7 separate regions of the Homo sapiens genome follow, and all the other regions are linked to region 6. Evidence: promoter capture Hi-C in 16 types of primary human blood cells and fetal thymus (Javierre and others, 2016). All regions are on one chromosome and are shown on one strand. Each heading gives the region's core, a stretch centred on a gene start or on the middle of the fragment in contact. The rest is flanking DNA. Distances are from core to core; before and after follow the strand shown.

What was found. Contacts are between HindIII fragments. The CHiCAGO score rates a contact against its expected background, and 5 or more counts as called.
Region 1: a fragment that was not itself captured here is called in contact with the fragment with the promoter of FTX in region 6 in 2 of 17 cell types (activated CD4 T cells and fetal thymus); the score reaches 5.4 in activated CD4 T cells.
Region 2: the fragment with the promoter of TAF1 here is called in contact with the fragment with the promoter of FTX in region 6 in 1 of 17 cell types (neutrophils); the score reaches 6.3 in neutrophils.
Region 3: a contact is called between a fragment that was not itself captured here and the fragment with the promoter of FTX in region 6, in 1 of 17 cell types (total B cells). The highest score is 5.9, in total B cells.
Region 4: a contact is called between a fragment that was not itself captured here and the fragment with the promoter of FTX in region 6, in 2 of 17 cell types (activated CD4 T cells and naive CD4 T cells). The highest score is 8.0, in activated CD4 T cells.
Region 5: a contact is called between the fragment with the promoter of RPS4X here and the fragment with the promoter of FTX in region 6, in 3 of 17 cell types (total CD4 T cells, naive CD4 T cells and naive CD8 T cells). The highest score is 6.6, in total CD4 T cells.
Region 7: the fragment with the promoter of OGT here is called in contact with the fragment with the promoter of FTX in region 6 in 1 of 17 cell types (fetal thymus); the score reaches 7.7 in fetal thymus.

Annotation. Positions count from the first base shown.
Region 1 is chrX:72,232,620-72,235,319 of GRCh38, forward strand. The region is part of intron 1 of ERCC6L (ERCC excision repair 6 like, spindle assembly checkpoint helicase); the gene reads right to left. It also overlaps a transcript of PIN4 not described here. Among named protein-coding and RNA genes, the nearest start is that of ERCC6L, 5.1 kb to the right of the region's middle. The HindIII fragment of the contact is 1,551 bases long and covers 610-2,160 here.
Region 2 is chrX:71,364,929-71,367,628 of GRCh38, forward strand. It overlaps TAF1 (TATA-box binding protein associated factor 1), which reads left to right and starts at 1,429. Exons shown (of 38, transcript NM_004606.5): 1 at 1,429-1,566; 2 at 2,571-2,685. The coding sequence starts at 1,447. RefSeq lists enhancers at 193-762, 931-980, 1,471-1,520, 2,039-2,700 and a silencer at 1,121-1,310. The HindIII fragment of the contact is 14,477 bases long and covers 1-2,700 here.
Region 3 is chrX:72,173,588-72,176,287 of GRCh38, forward strand. No RefSeq gene overlaps it. Among named protein-coding and RNA genes, the nearest start is that of PIN4, 6.8 kb to the right of the region's middle. The HindIII fragment of the contact is 892 bases long and covers 832-1,723 here.
Region 4 is chrX:76,430,363-76,433,062 of GRCh38, forward strand. MAGEE1 (MAGE family member E1) reads left to right here. Exons shown (of 1, transcript NM_020932.3): 1 at 1-980. The coding sequence ends at 442. Among named protein-coding and RNA genes, the nearest start is that of MAGEE1, 4.0 kb to the left of the region's middle. The HindIII fragment of the contact is 1,241 bases long and covers 781-2,021 here.
Region 5 is chrX:72,275,937-72,278,636 of GRCh38, forward strand. It overlaps RPS4X (ribosomal protein S4 X-linked), which reads right to left and starts at 1,312. Exons shown (of 7, transcript NM_001007.5): 1 at 1,257-1,312; 2 at 221-298. The coding sequence starts at 1,259. RefSeq lists enhancers at 812-891, 1,062-1,131. The HindIII fragment of the contact is 11,342 bases long and covers 1-2,700 here.
Region 6 is chrX:74,292,193-74,294,892 of GRCh38, forward strand. FTX (FTX transcript, XIST regulator) reads right to left here and starts at 1,382. Exons shown (of 7, transcript NR_028379.1): 1 at 1,160-1,382. It overlaps LOC124905199 (a long non-coding RNA gene), which reads right to left and starts at 404. Exons shown (of 2, transcript XR_007068266.1): 1 at 1-404. RefSeq lists an enhancer at 1-636. The HindIII fragment of the contact is 8,135 bases long and covers 477-2,700 here.
Region 7 is chrX:71,531,707-71,534,406 of GRCh38, forward strand. OGT (O-linked N-acetylglucosamine (GlcNAc) transferase) reads left to right here and starts at 1,398. Exons shown (of 22, transcript NM_181672.3): 1 at 1,398-1,630. The coding sequence starts at 1,594. RefSeq lists enhancers at 449-1,648, 1,149-1,488, 1,314-1,972. The HindIII fragment of the contact is 929 bases long and covers 823-1,751 here.

The DNA of each region.
Region 1 (2,700 bases), core at 135-2,634, 2.1 Mb before region 6:
CTAACATGACGAAACCCCGTTTCTACTAAAAACACAAAAAATTAGCCGGGTGTGGTGGCACCCACCTGTAATCCCAGCTACTCAGGAGGCTGAGGCAGGAGAATCACTTGAACCCGGGAGGTGGAGGTTGCAGTGAGCTGAGATCGCGTCATTGTACTCCAGCTTGGGCAACAAGAGCGAAACTCCGTCTCAGAAAAGAAAATCACCACTTTGTAATCTCTAATAACTGATTTGACACTTTGGGAGGCTGAGGCAGGTGGATCGCTTGAGACTAGGAGTTCAAGACCAGCCTGGGCAACATAGGGAGACCCCATCTCTTTAAAAAAAAAAACTGATTTGAGCAATAATTATCAATGGTTGAAAGCCTGATGGGTTGGTGGGGAACTGGATATTCACAGAATACTAAGCTATCCTGAACGTATTACTTCCTCATCATAAGGGGGAAATGCAACTTTGCAAAGGAGGAATCAGATTGTAATCACTGAACCCATTGATCAACCTTTCAATAGCATTATTGAAAGTAGGAAAGTCAGATGTTATATACTTCCTGATATGACACAATATAGCTACACAGCCTTCCCTATAAAGTATTCATGCCAAAAATATTGAAGCTTAATCTTATCAAGCCTTTAGTTTAAATTATAGGAGACAGAACAAACTAATGACACTACAAGGAAGACATCACACTAATTCAAATCATTGTCATAGAAATAAAAGTGGAGGGGAGGGGAGAACTGTTCTAGATTAGAAGTTCAAGAAACATAAAACCCAAATGAAGTTGTAGACCTTCTTTGGATCCTGATAAACCATTCAAAAATTTGAGGCTGGGCATGGTAGCTCACGCCTGTAATCACAGCACTTTGGGAGGCCGAGGCAGGCGAATCACTGGTCAGGAGTTCAGGACCAGCCTGGCCAACATGGTGAAACCCTGTCTCTACTAAAAATACAAAAAATTAGCTGGGCATGGTGGTGGGTGCCTGTAATCCCAGCTACTCGGGAGGCTGAGGCAGGAGAATCACTTGAACCCAGGAGGCGAAGTTTACAGTGAGCCGAGATTGCGCCACCACACTCCAGCCCGGATGACACTGCAAGACTCCGTCTCAAAAAAAAAAAATTTGAATATGGACTATGTATTAGATAATATCAATGAATTCATTTATTTTGTTAGGTGTGATATGGCATGGTGGTTTTGTAAGAATATGGTTTTTTTTTTGACCGGGCAAGGGGGCTCATGCCTGTAATCCCAGCACTTTGGGAGGCTGAGGCAGGTGAATCACCTGAGGCCAGGAGTTTGAGGCCAGCCTGGCCAACATGGTGAAACCCCATACTAAAAATACAATAATTAGCCTGGCGTGGTAGCAGGTGCCTGTAATCCCAGCTACTTGGGAGGCTGAGGCAGAGAATCACTTGAACCTGGGAGGCAGAGGTTGCAGTGAGCTGAGATTGCGCCACTGCACTCCAGCCTGGGCAACAGAGCAAGACTCCGTCTCAAAAAAAAAAAAGAATATGTTCTTTTTAAGGAATATATACTTAAGTATTTCAGCGTGAAATGTCATATCTGGGGATTTAAATTATCTTAGAAGATATGAGGAGGAATATCAACAGAATCTGAAGCAGCAGTCAGTGAAGTAAGAAGAAAATCCGGAGAGCAAGGGCTCCTTGGAAGACTAATGAATCATGTGTTTCATGGAGAAGTGATTAACTTCGTCAAGTACTACTGGTCGAGGTAGATGAAGATTGAGAATTGACTGTTGGATTTAGTTATATGAATGTCATTGGTGACTTTGATAAAAGCAGTTTGTGTAAAGTGATGGGGTGAAAACCTGATTGGGACGAGTTCAACAGAAGTTAGGAGAAAAGAAATAGGAAATGACAAGTGTAGACAATGATATGACACCTGGAATTTTGCTGTAAAGGAAAGAGAAGAAATGGAGCAATAACTGGAAATGAAAATAGGATCAAGAGAGGATTTTTTTTTTTAACAATGAAAGAATTGGTGGGCTGAAGTCCTTATACCAGTGAGTGACAAGGGATGAGATCTTTTGCACAAATGGAGGGGTTGTGCCTTAGCTAGAAGCATGGAGAGTTCATCCATACTAACAGGACAGAAGGCAAAGAACACAGAGGGAATAATGCTGGGAAGTAGGTTGATATGGAAGAAGCTTCTGGAAACTGTCTTCTGATTGCTTCTATCAACCCAGTGAAATTGGAAGCAAGAGAGATGAGGGTGAGATGTTGAGGGTCTGAAAAGCAAGAAGGCATGAAACAGGCATCTAGTACAATGGATGAGTGAATACATTAGAGAAATGTACTATGATTGCCAGGCAGCATGAAGGGCCTGCTTGACATCGATATTGATGGATTTCAAGTAAGACCAGTCACATGATTGTTTCTTCAACCATGTTCATCTGAGAGGGCCAGAGTTGGATTTAGCAAAATGTATTAGTTTCCTATTGCTGCCGTTACAAATCATCACAAATGTTAAAACAACACAAAGTATTATCTTTTATCTTACAGGTTATATCTTGCAGGTTATATAGGTTAGAAGTCTGACACAGGTCTCACTGGGCTAAAATTAAGGTTGCAGCAAGGCTGTGTTCCTTTCTGGAGGCTCTAGGGGGAGAATGTGCTTCTTGCTTTTCCAGCTTCCAGAGGCCATACACATTCCTTGGTTCATAGCCCCTTCCCCCATCTACCGAG
Region 2 (2,700 bases), core at 179-2,678, 2.9 Mb before region 6:
ATTCTTCCAAATATTTAGTGTCATGAAAAACAAACAAGAAGGCAGGTGATTCTGGACTAAAGGAAGATGACCAAATACAATGCATGAAACGTGAATGGATCCTAGTATTGGAAAAAAGGGAGAATGAGGAAGAGTGCTATGATGTGGTAAAGAAATTATTTCAGTCTATATTATCATAATATGTGAAAAAAGCAAGGTGAAAGCCGGGGTGTTGGCTCATGGCTGCAATCCCAGCACTTTGGGAGGCTGAAACGGGCAGATTGCTTGAGCCCAGGAGTCTGAGACCAGCCTGTGCAACATGACGAAACCCCGTAAAATGTTCCAACTAGGACAACTGGGGAAATTTAAGTGCGGACTCTTCCTTAAATAATATTGACTTACTTCCTAAAGTTGTGATAAAGGTACTTTGGTTCCATAGTTAAGATGCTTATTTTTAGGAGTGAAGAACAAGATGCCCATAAATGGTTTAGAAAAACAAAAATCCTAGCAAAATGTTAACCATTGTGAGTCTAGGTGAGGGGTCAGCTGTTCATTTTACTAAACTTTCACATTTTCCGAAATAAAACGTTGGGGGAACAAGTATTTTTTTTGAGGCGGGCTGGAGTGCAGTGGCCCGATCACAGGTCACTGCAGACTCCAACTCCTGGCTCCCACCTCAGACCCCCCAACAGCTGGGACTACAGGCACTGGCCACCACATCTGGCTAATTTTTTTGATTTTGTGTATGGATGGAGTCTCGCTTTCTTGTCCAGGCTGGCCTCATACTCGTGGGCTCAAGCGATCCTCCCACCTCGGCCTCTCAAAGTGCTGGAATTACAGGCGTAAGCCACCGCGTCCGGTCAAAAAATCAATTTCTAGGGAAAAATGTCAACTCAAAACAAGTAACCTGCATAGCTCGGGAATGCCTGTATAATTTACGTCAAGTCTCTCCTTGGGACGGACCGGTGAAATTGCACGCAGCACAAAGACCGGCTCTTACCCTTACTTCCGGGTATTGTGGTACAGGAACCCGAGGTTGCCTGCGCGTAAGCCACGTGACTCGAGCAGCTCCTTCTGATTGGAGGAAGAGCCACTGCTCTAATTCGGTGCCGTGAGAAAGCTCGCGCGCGGAGCAGTGGGAGCGGGCGGGACTGAATATTTTCTTTGACCAACCGCTTTCCACATATCCATCCTCCTGATCCCGTAGCGTCGAATCAAAAGCCGTTAGTAAAGTAGTTACTTCTTTCTCTTAGGATAGCCGGTCTTTCCGGGTTTTCCCCCCCTTCCCCCTCCCCTCTCCCCACTTCCCCCTCCCTTTCCCCTCTGTTTTGAGCTTCCGGTAGAGGCTGGTAGGGTAAGGGAGCTCAGTAAGTCACTTCTGGGCGACTGTTGTTTTATTTCCGGTCTATGGGACCCGGCTGCGATTTGCTGCTGCGGACAGCAGCTACCATCACTGCTGCCGCCATCATGTCAGACACGGACAGCGACGAAGATTCCGCTGGAGGCGGCCCATTTTCTTTAGCGGGTTTCCTTTTCGGCAACATCAATGGAGCCGGGCAGCTGGAGGGGGAAAGCGTCTTGGATGATGTGAGGGGGTGGGCGTGGGGGTAGGGCTCGGGGGGTGGGGCTAAGCAGAGGAAGGAGGTGCGGGGAGGAAAGGAGAGGGTGCTCAGGCAGCGAGAACAGGGCGCAGCTAACGCCGGGGAGGAGGATCCCGTCCTCATGGGTGCGGGAGCAACGTGGCGTGGGAGTGATCGTTCTGGGGGAGAGTGGGCAGAAGAGAGCGCGAGGCGAGCCCGGGGCCAGGGGCGCAGGGAATAGTGGCTTTGGAGCTAGCGCTCTGCCGACCAGACAGTAGGACACATGCTGGTTTCGCCTACTGAGATGGCTTCCCACCCGTAACCTGCTTGGAGATTCTTGACACTGCCTGCCCCTCTGACATCGCTGCCCTGAGATGGCTCTATAGAGCCAGAGGACTGGACAGGACCTGCCTCCCGCTCGTTTGGTTCCGGCCTCAGGCTTAGGACAATGGGGTGTTCCTAGCACCCGAGCGGGCCTCCTGGTCACAGTGCGCCTTTTAGGTGGCTCTCCCAGCGTCTTCACTGACTTTCGTGAAATAGTGTCCTGCGCCCTAGTGAAACTACCCTGCCTTCACTTAGGCCCGTTTTCTTGAGGAGTGAAGCTGTCGGCCGCTGTGGCCCCTCCTGTGCCGCAGGCGCATGCGAAACAGGGACCGAACGAGCCCCGCCTCGACGCCTCCAATCCCACTGATCCCCCTGCCTCGGCCCTCGTTCCGAGAACGACCGTTCCATTCATTCAGTCTTGGCAGTAGTTATTTGATTCGTCTTCTCTTGTAGTATACTTTAAAGTGTGGGCGATGCAGTTGGCTGTGGTGCTTTAATAAAGATCTGATCGATGCGGAGTTTGGTAGATGTATATTACAGTTCTCGAACGTGTTGCTTGTTTTGGCACACTGCACAGTCATTTTTCATGTGGATTTGTGACTTTGTCGTGGACCAGGGAAATAAGTCCTGTGGTGTGGGAGTCGTAGGTTTAGTTGTTATCTTCGACTCGTGCTGTCCCTTTTTCAGGAATGTAAGAAGCACTTGGCAGGCTTGGGGGCTTTGGGGCTGGGCAGCCTGATCACTGAACTCACGGCAAATGAAGAATTGACCGGGACTGACGGTGCCTTGGTAAATGATGAAGGTGAAGTCTGGGTTG
Region 3 (2,700 bases), core at 28-2,527, 2.1 Mb before region 6:
AGTCTTGAAAGGTAAATAAGAATTAGCCAGATCAAAAATAAGGGAAAGCATTCCAGGGAGAGAGATCAGCATGGAGTCTTAAGATAGGGCCTGTAAATAGTAACTTTATATGGTTGCGCCCAGTGGAGACTAGCAAGAAATGAGGCTGCAGATGTCAGTATAATGGGCCCTGGGCCTCCAGGTTACAAAGTGAGATAGTGTCCTATCAGACAATGGGGAGTCACTGAAGGGTCTTAACTGGGAGAGTCACAGTATCAGTTCTGTGTTTCTAAGAGCTCCCTCTGAGATGCCGCAGAAGGTAGTTTGAAGAGAAGGTGAAACTGGCAGCAGAGGGATCAATGTTCCGATGGTCTAGAGAATATGCAGAAGGCTATGGCAGTGGCGGGGAGGGCAGGGGACAAGCCAGAGGTAATTAGTGACTCCTAGTTAACATTATGACAACTGAAGTGTTTAGGGATGGAGTGTGCTGATGTCTGTAACTTGCTTTGAAATGCAACAAAAATAAGAAAAATTGATGGGTGAATATGTGATAAAGCAAATCTAGCAAAATGTTCACTGTTCACCATAAAATTATGGGGGGCAGGGAGAAGTGTTGTTTAGGAGGCAGAATCCACTGAACATGGAGACCAGTGCCCAAGGCTGAGGATGCAGAAGACCTCTTCCCCAGCAGCTCCCCTCTTCCTTGTCTACAGTACCCTGCCCACTGTCCCCCACCCATACTATGTTCCTTCTCCTTGCCTCTGTGCTTCTGCAGCCTGGAAGGTCCAGCACCGCAGGCAGAGGAGAGCACATTCCAGGTTACTCATAATAACATACTGATGCATAAACCAAAGCTTATTTATGTCCCATGTTGGGGGTATAACTTGACCCTGTGGCCTCTTGCACAGTGTCCCTAAATGCCTCAAGGTCCCTGGAGGGCTGATTTGGTGAACATGCTCTCAGAAAAAAGAGAACTGGATGTTCTTAGATTTCATTTAGGGGATGGCAAAGCCTGGAGTAGCATGGCATCATGGAGAGGGTACCAACTTGGAAGTCAGACAGACGAGTTCGTTGCCCAACCTTACCACAGACCCTAGCTAGCTGTGAAACTTGGGGCACATTTCTTAACTTCTCTGACCCTATTTCTTCAGCTTTAAGGTGGTAATAGAGCTGGGTGGGGTGGGTCACACCTGTAATCCTAGAACTTTGGGAGGCCGAGGCAGGCGGATCACTTGAGGTCAGGAGTTTGAGACCAGCCTGGTCAACATGGTGAAACCTTGTCTCTACTAAAACTACAAAAATTAGCCAGGCATCGTAGCAGGCACCAGTAGTCCCAGCTACTCGGGAGGTGGAGGCAGGAGAATTGCTTGAATCTAGGAGGCGGAGGTTGCAGTGAGCCGAGATTGTGCCACTGCACTCCATCCTGGGTGACAGGGCGAAACTCTGTCTCGAAAAAATAAAAATAAAAAAAGATGGCAATAGTAATATTTTCCAAATAAGGCTGTTGTGAACTCTAAAAGAGATCACGAAGGGAAAGCTCCTGGCTCATAGTACGTGTGCAATTTGTGTTGGTTGTTTTCCACTGTCTTAAGTGAACACTGCCTCTAAAAAACAAAATCTACCTCATGAGATACTGGTATAGTAAGGTCTTCCAGAAACTGTAGTTCTTTTGCTTAGATAATGCTGGACAAACACAGATGGAGCCTTCTTCTCTGAAGTCCTTTTTGAAAAACCAGTCACTTAAAGCTTCATTACCTAGTATGAAGTGGGTTAGAAAATTCTTTGGCCACTCATCATGCTACCTGACTTCAAACTGTACTACAAGGCTACAGGAACCAAAACAGCATGATACTGGTACCAAAACAGATATATAGACCAATGGAACAGAACAGAGGCCTCAGAAATAATACCACACATCTACAACCATCGGATCTTTGACAAACCTGACAAAAACAAGAAATGGGGAAAGGATTCCCTATTTAATAAATGGTGCTGGGAAAACTGGCTAGCCTAATATGTAGAAAGTTGAAACTGGATCCCTTCCTTACACCTTATACAAAAATTAATTCAAGATGGATTAAAGACTTAAATGTTAGACACAAAACCATAAAACCCTAAAAGAAAACCTAGGCAATACCATTCAGGCCATAGGCATGGGCAAGGACTTCATGACTAAAACACCAAAAGCAAAGACAACAAAAGCCAAAATAGACAAATGGGATCTAGTTAAACTAAAGAGCTTCTGCACGGCAAAAGAAACTACCACCAGAATGAACAGGCAACCTACAGAATAGGAGAAAATCTTTGCGATCTACCCATCTGACAAAGGGCTAATATCTAGAATCTACAAAGAACTCAAAACGAATTTACAAGAAAAAAAAAACAACCCCATCAAAAAGTCGGCAAATGGTATGAACAGACACTTCTCAAAAGAAGACATCTATGCAGCCCACAGACACATGAAAAAACGCTCATCATCACTGGTCATCAGAGAAATGCAAATCAAAACCACAACGAGATACCATCTCATGCCAGTTAGAATGGCAATCATTAAAAAGTCAGGAAACAACAGATGCTGGAGAGAATGTGGAGAAATAGGAAGGCTTTTACACTGTTGGTGGGAGTGTAAATTGGTTTGACCATTGTGGAAGACAGTGTGGTGATCCCTCAAGGATCTAGAACTAGAAATACCATTTGACCCAGCAATCCCATTACTGGTAT
Region 4 (2,700 bases), core at 151-2,650, 2.1 Mb after region 6:
CTATACTCTGTACAACCGAAGGGAGATGGAAGAAACTGAGGAGATCGTAGACAGTCCAAACAGGCCTGGCAACAACTTTTTGATGCAGGTCCTAAGCTTCATCTTTATTATGGGCAACCATGCCAGGGAGTCTGCAGTCTGGGCCTTTCTGCGGGGCTTAGGGGTTCAAGCTGGGAGAAAGCATGTGATTACCTGCAGATACTTGAGTCAGCGCTATATAGACAGTTTACGGGTTCCTGACAGTGATCCAGTGCAATATGAGTTTGTATGGGGTCCTAGAGCCCGTTTGGAAACCTCTAAGATGAAAGCCTTGCGATATGTGGCCAGAATCCACAGAAAGGAACCACAGGACTGGCCACAGCAGTACAGGGAGGCAATGGAAGATGAGGCCAATAGAGCTGATGTTGGGCACAGGCAAATCTTTGTTCACAACTTCAGGTAGAGGAATGCATGGCAGTCAGAGGGGCCTTGCAAGGAGGGGCCTTTGAGCCTCAGTTCTCATGTATTGGGGGGTGGGGGTGGGTACATATTGTATTTGGTATTTGTGTTCCAGTTATATTTATGTCTTTTCATATTTAGTTCTGGTGTGGTGTCTGGAAATGTTTCAACTGTTTTAATATATTGTCTGATTGGGTAAATGTGATTGACCACTTGCTGTCTCTGTTGTATTTTGGTATGAGTTTTGATAGCTCTATAAAATGTTTTGGAAATCTTTCCATCTTGTTGCATTATCTAGAAAAGAATATAGCATATAGCTATAGATATAGGCTTTTCCTTGAAAGCTTGAAAAAAATTCGCCAGTAAAATAATCTAGCTTAAAGTGATAAACTAACAAACAAATATAACAACAACTGAAAAGGCACTCTAAATTGTGGCTGGCTTCCCTTTCTGTCTGCTATTGTATGAAGAATACTGATGTTTACCTGTATTTGCTTTGCTGTACTAAAATGTAATGAAAAATAAAAGATTAATAAATGAAACATAATGCTAATACACTGACTTATTCAACTGCTTTCATACAGTGAGCACAGTGGTGTGCCCTAGTTATAGAAGTATAAAAGTTTACAAGATATAGTACCTGCCCAAGAATTCAGAGGCTGGATAGGGTACAGGGGGAGGTCATTTAAATCACCAATTTATTATGGTGTACTATGTGCTACAATAGAAAAATAGAGAGTGCTATGGTAGTTAAAAAGAGGCACAACTGACCAATTCCTGGGGTGTTCAGGGTGGTCCTTAAGGAAGCTGTTGGGTATGTGGGGTGGGGACAAGATGGGGTCTTTTTTTTTTTTTTTTTTTTTGAGACAGAGTCTCGCTCTGTTGCCCAGGCTAGAGTGCAGTGGCATGATCTCGGCTCACTGCAACCTCTGCCTCCTGGGTTCAAGAAATTCTCCTGCCTCAGCCTCCAGAGTAGCTGGGACTACAGGCAAGTGCCATCACACCCAGCTAATTTTTGTATTTTTAGTAGAGACGGGGTTTCACTATTTTGGCCAGGCTGGTCTCAAACTCCTGACCTCGTGATCTGTCCACCTCAGCCTCCCAAAGTGCTGAGATTACAGGCGTGAGCCACCGTGCCCAGCCAAGATGGGGTCCCTAATACAATCATGAATTAAACTGATTCAAGGCTGGATTTCAGTCTTTATGTGTGCTGGTAGGAAAAAAAGTCAAAGATGTAAGGCCAGAGAGCAGGATATATTGTGTCATCAATGGTTTCAATAAGATACATGAGCCAGCTTTCTCTAAGTTATGCTGTGGGTTTTTAAAAAATACCCAAATCTCAGAGGCTTACAACAACAAAATTTTGGGCTCATTTTACATCCCTTTCATGGGCTGTCTGTGATTCTGTTTATATTGTCTTCCTTCAGGTAACCAGGCTAAAGGAGTAAATCATATATGGGACACCTGTTCTTGTGGCAGAAGTAAAAGAGCCATAGTGGAACCATGTGATAGTTTTCAAAGCCTATGCTCATATATGGCATATTGTAGTCATAATCCATTGGCAAAAGCAAGTCACATGGGCAAGCTTGATGTCAATGAGCTGGGAAGTGTACTCCTTCTACAGGGAAGAACATATAGGAATGGGCCCAGTAGAGAGGAAGAACATATATTTTTGAATAAAAAATTAGTCTACCATATAAGAATTTGGCTTTAGTTGTGAGTGAGATGGAAAACTATTTAAGGCTTTTGATCTGAGCGATGGCAGGAAACCACTTAGTTTTGACAGGATTCTTTTGGCTCTCATATTGAAAAACTAAAGGGGGTGGGGAGGGCAGAAACTCTAATTTTAGCATAGTAATTTCTTCTTAATGTACCTATGAAAAGAGGTGTTATTTTCTGAACAAAATCAAATTTAAAGAAATTGAAGTCAGAAAGCCTGTTATCTTTTAAAAAACACCTTGGAAATCAAACTCCGTGGTATCAAGGTTAAAAGGCATTAGAACATAGTAGTAAGAGCATGTAGTCTAGAGTCAAAGTGCCTGGGTACAAACCCTGGCTCTCTCTGATACTAGAGATGAGAACTCAGGCAAGTTACTTAACTCCTTTGTGCCTCCATTTTTTCATCTGTAAAATGGGCATAATAATTTCACCTACGCCATAATGTTGGGGATTAAATGTGTTAACATGTAAAACACAAGAGCACTTGACATGTAGTTAGCAATATATAAGTGATATTGTTGCATGTTGATTTTTTCCAGGAAT
Region 5 (2,700 bases), core at 62-2,561, 2.0 Mb before region 6:
CATGAATCCTGAGTCCATGTAAATGTACTATGTGGTATGTGGAATAAATGAGGCACAAAAATATTAAATCGATTGGAAGTGGAGGACAGCTAGATAGTATAGCTCCTTCAAGGGCAGAGGAAGCCAAGAATAGATATTCCTCCCCTAGCCTGGTCCCCAAATGAGTCCTGGGAGACACTTAAAAACAGTGGCCACGGAAATATTTATATAAGATACTTACAAACACACCGGTCAATTTATCCAGCATCCAATGCTTTGGAGCTGCCACCCGCTTCAGATGCTTCTTGGGACCACGAGCCTGAAAGTTTTAGATTGCAATGCTGTTAATCAGGTTTCAGAACAGCTTATAAAACCTAGTGTGAAACTAAACTCTTAGTTTAGTTTCATCTTCAGCAAAATGTGGACAATATTAAAGTATAGTGTTCCGATAAAACAGAAACAAACACAGTTATTTAACAAACACCGTGAGATCCATAAGCTGCAACAAGCCTTCTTATTGTAACAGAGAATATTCTTGGTTACTATGTTTCAGAACGTTTACTGATTACTATCTTTCAGAACCTTGCTAAAGTGTTTCCATGTTACTGTTTGAAACTGTATCTGCTTAGAGGTTAGGGTCTTTCAAGAACACCATACTAGTGAAACGCACAGCAACAGAAATGAGCCAGGAGTCTACCTGTGTTTCTAAAGTTTTCACAATTTATTACCGTCTGTTTTTGACACGTATGGAACAAGATTCTGACATCCGCACAAACACATGTGCTGCTCCTTCGTACACTAAAGCCAAAAGCTGACACCAATTTTACTTTAAAAAGAGTAAGGAAGCCTTTTTAATGCTGTGTCCAGATGCTTACCGGCCACGTATGGTAAAGTCAGGCCGTGCCAAAAAGGCAATGACAAAGAAAACCTTTCTCCGCCGGGCACCCCCAGCGCCCACCAACCTCGGGCTCGCAGTCTGAGCTCCTGGCCCAGCCGCGGCTCCGGCCCGGGAGGAAAAGCAGCTTCTCCCGGGATCAGGACGTATGGCCGGGTCAGAAACCGAGGCCTTCCCAACAGCAGCACCAGATCTGCGCCTCCCCAACCCTAGGCCAGCGTTCGCCCTTCGCCCTGGAGCCCGTCCCGGCCTACCACGGAGGCCGTGATCCCTTCGCCTCTGCCCGGCCATCCCCAGTAGGAATCCCGAAACCTCGGGCAGCCCCGGCCGGGGGAGGATGGAGGCGGATACGTCCTAAGAGCTCGCTAACTAAACGGCTTACCATGGCTGCGTTAGGCAAGGAAAGAGGACCTCCGTCTTCCGGTGCGCGTAGAAATTGGGGCTGGAGACTGCGCGCGCCGGATTTTCAGCTGCTCCGCCCAGCTCAGCCCTTTGCTGGCGCGCCGGGACTCTTTCTTGCCATCTGCTGGTGGGAGGTCAGAAGTCCCGAGTTGAGGAACCGCCGCGGAAAGAGGGTGTCTCCTAAGGGCGATTTCCTCCCTCCCCTTTTTCCGCCCTTCCTCCTCCCATATTTGCTGAGCGCCTCTTGTGTGCCTTATTCTGTGCTAGGTGCTGGGAATACAAAGATGAGCTACACAACATCCCTGGCCTCAAGGAGAGTTCAAAGTGAGCTTACTTCCAGTCTCACGTACAGATGATTCTACGCCTGTAATCCCAGCACTTTGGGAGGCCGAGGCGGGCGGATCATGAGGTCAGGAGATCGAGACCATCCTGGCTAACACAGTGAAACCCCGTCTATACTAAAAAAAAATACAAAAAAATTAGCCGGGCATAGTGGCGGGCGCCTGTAGTCCCAGCTACTCGGGAAGCTGAGGCAGGAGAATGGCGTGAACCCCGGAGGTGGAGCTTGCAGTGAGCCGAGATCGCGCCACTGCACTCCAGCCTGGGCGACAGAGCGAGACTCCGTCTCAAAAACAAAACAAAACAAAACAAAACAAAGAACTTGTATATAATCAATAGAATACATTTTAATAAATATTTAATGTTATTTCTTAAACGTATTTTGTCTGTCCCTTTTTTGTGTTCCCTTGAGCCAGCCAGGCAGCCCATACTGAGTTGGGAAGAGCCAACAACGTTTTTAACCCCCTCTTGCTTCTCTGCTTGAACTCTGACATCCTCCCCCTTGCTTCCTGTACAACGCATTTGGCACTTATAGAGACTCAGGGAGGAGAGAGGATATTAGAAATCGTCTGGTTATATCTAACTAAAATGTAGATCTGATCCTGCTTCGAAACTGCCCTTGGCCCTCTGTTTCCTGCCGTAAGGGAGCAGGTCTGAACTTTATCTGGCTCCATTGCTCTCTCTCCCCAATCCCAAACTTCAAAGCTCAAGCCCCACCAAGCTAGTTTGTTCCGAGGGAGTCAGCTCTTTTTGTTTGTTTGTTTGGGAGACAGGGTCTCACTCTGTCACCCAGGCTGTAGTGCATGGCTCACTGCAGCCTCGACAGACAGCCCGGGCTCAAGCGATCCTCTCACTTCAGCCCCCACGAGTAGCTGGGACAACAGGCGCACGCCACTGCACCCAACTAATTTTTTGTAGTTTTATTTTTTTGTAGAGACGGGGTTTCGCCATGTTACCTAGGCTGGTCTCAAACTCCTGGACTCAAGCGATCCGCCCGCCTCGACCTCCCAAAGTGCTGGGATTACAGGCCTGAGCCACTGCGCCTGGCTAGAGTCAGCTCTTTCAAGACTGCTTGTGGACTCGAT
Region 6 (2,700 bases), core at 132-2,631:
TTCTGGGTTAATTTCTAGTGGATCTGGCCACAGCATAGGAGAACTCCAACTCAGGTTGATCCCTTCACTCAGCTAAAAAGGTAGTTCTCTGCAAGGCCTGCTAGCCCAAGATGGCCAAGCAAAGACAGCTTACCTCCCCCCTCGCCATTTTGCAACCTTAATTACCCGAATGCTGAGCGCCTCCCCTCCCCGGCACTCCGTCTGAAATACGCATGCGCGCCGCTTCCTCCTTACCGTTCTCCCCAACCATCCAGATGTTGTCTCAAATATGCATGAGCGCCACCTCTACCTCCCAAACGCTGGTACCAACTCCTAGCAACTTTGCGTTGTTAAATATGCCTGCGAGTCCTTCACTTCCCGACCTTCCAACCCTCCAACCCCGACGCCATTCAAGCCTTGCGCATGCGTGCCTCCCTCTCCCCACCCCCGCCCCACTGGAGCCCGTCCCCTTAACTCAGGTCTTCTCAAATACTGTAAGCTTGAGCGCCGCCCCTCGGCGCCGCGCCTCCTCATCCAGCCTCTCAAATACCCTGCGCACCGCGATAGTCCTCTCTCTTCTTGCTCCCATTTGTATACAGTATGCATGCCTGATGCTATCTGGACGTGTTTCTCGCCACAATTCTGCCCCAGTGCCCAAGGAGAGCCATTACCAGCCTTCCCTAATGCGAGTAGATGCGATAAACTAGGGAAGTTGAATCGGGGAAAGAAGGCGTTGCAGGTGATCAGAGTGAATCCCAGATCTAGATGGAATCGGTCCCAACTCCAAGGGAGGGGGCTAGAGTACCCCAGGATTCACATAAGACCGGTCAACCTGAACAAAGGCAAGGAAAACTTTCACAAACCATCGGATGAACATAATCCTAAGGCCTCGCCCTTTAAATACATCTGCTACAAATGACGAACCACAAATGTTTTAAACAGGGAACATTATGGAAAACACCGATGCTCAGGTGCCTTGACTCTAGTTAGAGGAAAGGAACCCGCATTCCTTTCACAATGGGAAGCAAATGCTCAACATCCTTTTGGAAAACTGGGGCCTGTAACGTATTCCATTTTTTCCTCCCGTGAACTGGAAAAATGCACAAATTAAGGATCTTCCTGGCCCAAGTTCCCTCCGCCGCCCTCCATGTTCTGTTCTTCCCCTACATCGTTCCTTTACCTCCTGGTTGAATTCAGTGTCGTAGCAGGAATTCTTAGAGCTGGCCGTCCCAAGATGGGGTGGAGAGAGCGGCATGAAAGAGAGAGAGAGAGAGAGACACGCCTGAATGGCAGCAGCAGGCCTTAGCGGCAATGGACAGCAGGCACAGGACCAGCTTTGCCTCGAGCCGCAACGCTGATGCCAGAAAAGGACAACCTCTCCAGAATCGCCGCAGTGTGCTTCCAGCGCATGCGCTGCTAACGCCCCTTAACCCCCCCTCCGCGCCCCGCCTCCCCCACGCGCCGCTCTCCAGCCTCTAGGAGTCTAACCCTTAGCGGTCCACCGACCTCCTTCACTTCTTTCCCAGGACGCTATCCCACTCTGCTTCTTCCACCTTTCCCCTCCCCTCGGTCACACTGGCCTCCACCATCATCCCTCCCTCAGCCCATACTTCTTTCGTCAATCCCTCTCCCATTATTCTTAGCCCACCATCTACCTTTATTTCCTCTGCTATCGTTAGTGGTCTACCCTTCAATTCTTCACTTTCCCTGCCAGTCTGCAGCCCTCTTGGGCCTCTTACTCCTCTCCTCCTATGCCTGATGTTGAAATTTGTAAAAATTACCGCAAAAATTTTTTTTTAAATAATTGTAGCCCGGGCGCGGTGGCTCACACCTGTAATCCCAGCACTTTGGGAGGCCGAGGTGGACGGAACCCTTGAGTTCAGGAGTTCGAGACCAGCTCGGGTGACATGGCGAAACCCCGTCTCTACAAATAAATACAAAAATTAGCCGGGCGTGGTGGTGCGCACCTGTACTCCCAGCTATTCAGAAGGCTGAGGTGGAAGAATCACTCGAGCCCAGGAAGTCGAGGCTACAGTGAGCTATGATTGTGCCAGCTATGATGTTGCCAGCCTGGGCAACAGAGTGAGACCCCATCTCAAAAAAAGAAAAAAAATATTTCCACACATCCTCTCCAAAGCAGCTCTCAGGGTGAGCTCAACCAGCCTGTCTTGGGCAAAGAGAACACCTTTTTGATGATGACCCACAGGGAAGATCCAGAGACAGGGAACCAGAACAAAAACTGCAAAAGTGTTCAATCAATTTGGGGGTAAGAGGCAGTAGACCACCAACATGGAAAGCTCTTTTCTTTCTATTCACAACCCTGGTATTGTCTGGACATTAAAAATGAGATTCAATGTCCTTCACTGCTTACTACAAGGCCTGTTCTTGTCTTCTGTAAGAACTCAAATATTAATTTTGAGGGAAATGGCATTATTTACTTAAGAGGCTCTGAAATAGATCCCTCTTTGGGTGTGAACTAGAAAGAATACAAAATAATATTTTGTTTCTCTTTATTATGTTTTACTTTGGTGTCTGGTTCTTATTGCTTTCTAAAAGAGCCAGTTTGGAAATACCAAAAACTGAGACCCGCAAATTCATAAATCCTAAAACTCATAAACTTATACATCACCATCCTCTCAAATTAACTTAAGAATGTTATATCAACATTATTCAGAGAAAAATGGGTTTGCATTTGTTATATAATACGCCCAAAAAATTATA
Region 7 (2,700 bases), core at 148-2,647, 2.8 Mb before region 6:
AAATCAAATTACAAGAGGTTGGTGCTCAATTTTCAGGAGAGTTTGTGTAGTGATTTTTGTCTTTTTCACTGCATGATGTGACTCTTGATTATGGGATGGAAGAAATTAGCATTATGAATTTTCTCTGTGCCATTTCCATAATTAATTGTTTGTTGACTGTTTTGAAGAAATTTAAGCAGAATTTGAGGACTTAGTTTTAAAAAATGTAGTGAAGGGGCTAGGTAGCAAAAACTTTTTGAAGAAATTCATTGACCTGCTTTCTTAGATCAAGGACTTTTTGAAATAAAAAGGCTCTCAGAGATCCAACTTGTAGCCTCCAGTGGCTTGTAATACTTTCTTGCTGATGTGGCAAGCTACCTTAAGTCGTTTCTAGAACAAGAGGTGAAGTATAAATACCAATGTGACAAAATGTCTGAACAGTAGACTTGAAACTGCAGGAAGATCGTAAGAACCGATTTGTTCAAGGAAGTAGAGGCAATTCATGACTCAATCTAGACGTGTGGTTTAGGCAGATGGCAAGTGAATTCATTTATCATTGTTGATCTGCTTTGAGCTCAGTGGAATCGCCGACTGTGACAATGTGCAGAGCTAGCTGGTGGAAATGAAGTCACAACTCGAGGAGAGTCATGGATTTTGACGAACGTGAATCACCTTTAACATTTTTATGGCTGCCTTCGGAGTGCAAACGCCCAGCATGTCCCTGAGTTATTAAACATTTGCCCTATCACCGTGGGCAGGAGTATTCTGAATACCAAAACGATTTTGAAATTTCAGGCTATACGGCCAACATTGAAGGTGTCTGCATTCAACTGGCCCTGTGAAAGCTTCAGTCTTTTTCATCGAAGTGCTGAAATCGATGGCCGAGTCACAATGAAGACGGGCTCAAATCGGAACCCTCTCGCTCCTCGTTTTGAGCAGCTGTCTTTGAGAGGCAATCTTCTGAATTGACTGGCTCAGAATTGATCCGTGAGAGTCGTAACCATCCGTTTTTGTACGAATACAGTTGATAAACTTTTTTAGACGCCTTTGGCATTTATGTTTAAAACGACACCACCTGCTAAGTAACAAACACTCTTCTTAATCGCGGTGGCAAAAACGTATCCGTCCCGTGTGTGTTTGTTTTTACCCTTCCGCTACACTCTTAAGAAACTTGGCCGCTTCCGCCCCAGAGAGTGCCCTAACCACGAGTCGGGTTGACAGGGCTGCTCGCATGCGCGGTCTCCACCGTGGTGTTTGTCGCAATGGGCGCTGCGCGGAGGACTACATGGAATCTCGACTTTGCAGCTTGAAGTCATTTTGTTGGCGGCGCTGGTTACCGGCTACCTCCGCGCGGGCACTTGATTGTAACAGAAAGTAGTTCCGGCCCATGTTGTTTCGGCCGAGGAGCCGTCGCCGCCATTTCAAGACCGTACTAGGTAGATGGTCAATTAGAGTTCCCAGGGTTTGAAGCCTGTAACTGCTGCCGCCGCTCAAGCCCTCCAGAGCATTGCTACGGCTGCTGCCCTTGTACTACTACCTCCAAATACGTTCTTGCTGGTAGTGGCGGCAGCAGGACCAATTACCTCTTTTTTGCTCTCCCTCGAGAAGCTCCAGATGGCGTCTTCCGTGGGCAACGTGGCCGACAGCACAGGTACCGGTGTCCCGTTCTACCTTGGCAGATGCCCCCTTGGGGTCTCGCGCCGTCCTCTACCTTGTATCACTCCTTCCCTCCCTTCCCTCGAACCATCCCCATTACATCAGTGACATTGCTAAGCTTTTCGTGGTCTACTGGCATCTGATCACATCGGGTTTTCCGCTGTTGTCCGCTTCCCGAACATTTCCTCCTCCTCCCTTGCTTGCTTTTTGCTGCCTTTCTTGCTTTGTTTTTATTTCGTAAATGTTCTAGCATTCCACTCTCTCCAGGCGCTTTTATCACACGTGCGCGCTTAGAATGTCGTGGAATGGACTGCATTGGAATCCCTGCCCTTTCACTCCTTTGCAGCGGTTTTCTCCCCTAATTCCAGCTCATCGCCTCTCCTTTTTCCCCTCCATCTCCTCCTTCATCTCCCCCCCCAGTCTTTTCCCCTTAGCCAGATTTGGTCCTTCTCTGCCAATCTAGGGCGGGGGTGCCGTTCCGATGTAATCATATCCTCACTTTGCATCACCCGAGGACGATCAAAAGCTCGTCGATGGTGCCACAAGTCACCTCGAGAAGAGGGGACATTGAGCAGCACCCTGCTAGGCAGTGCCTTTCTGGTGTTCTTTCGGTTGAGCGGTCCCGGTTTAGATTGGAAATTTCCAGGGGTTTCCTTTGCCATCGCCCAATTCCACCGCTGCCCTCAGCCTGGATTTCCCACCCTGTCCGCGGGGAACCACACCCTTCCCTTCGCGAGGTTGCCAGCCCTGTTCACTTCCTATCCTTGGGGGAGAAACCACCCCGATGCTGCTGCTTTGGCGTTGACCACCCTGCCCGCCCAATTCTCGCTTTGTGTTACTTTCTCGATGTATTCCTCCGCCGCCGCCTCTGGGTCTGCCATCCCCATTCTTCAGCCCAGTATCTCTTTATTCACAGGGTGTAATATTCTTTTAAGTTTCCATCCCTGCTTGAAGAGTTTGTAAAGCAACTGGAGTGTAGCTGCACAAGTACAAGGCGGTTGCCCTTTTAGACACTTCAGTCGCGAGCATTTGGTACTGAAAATACGAAAACAACCAAATTGTAGG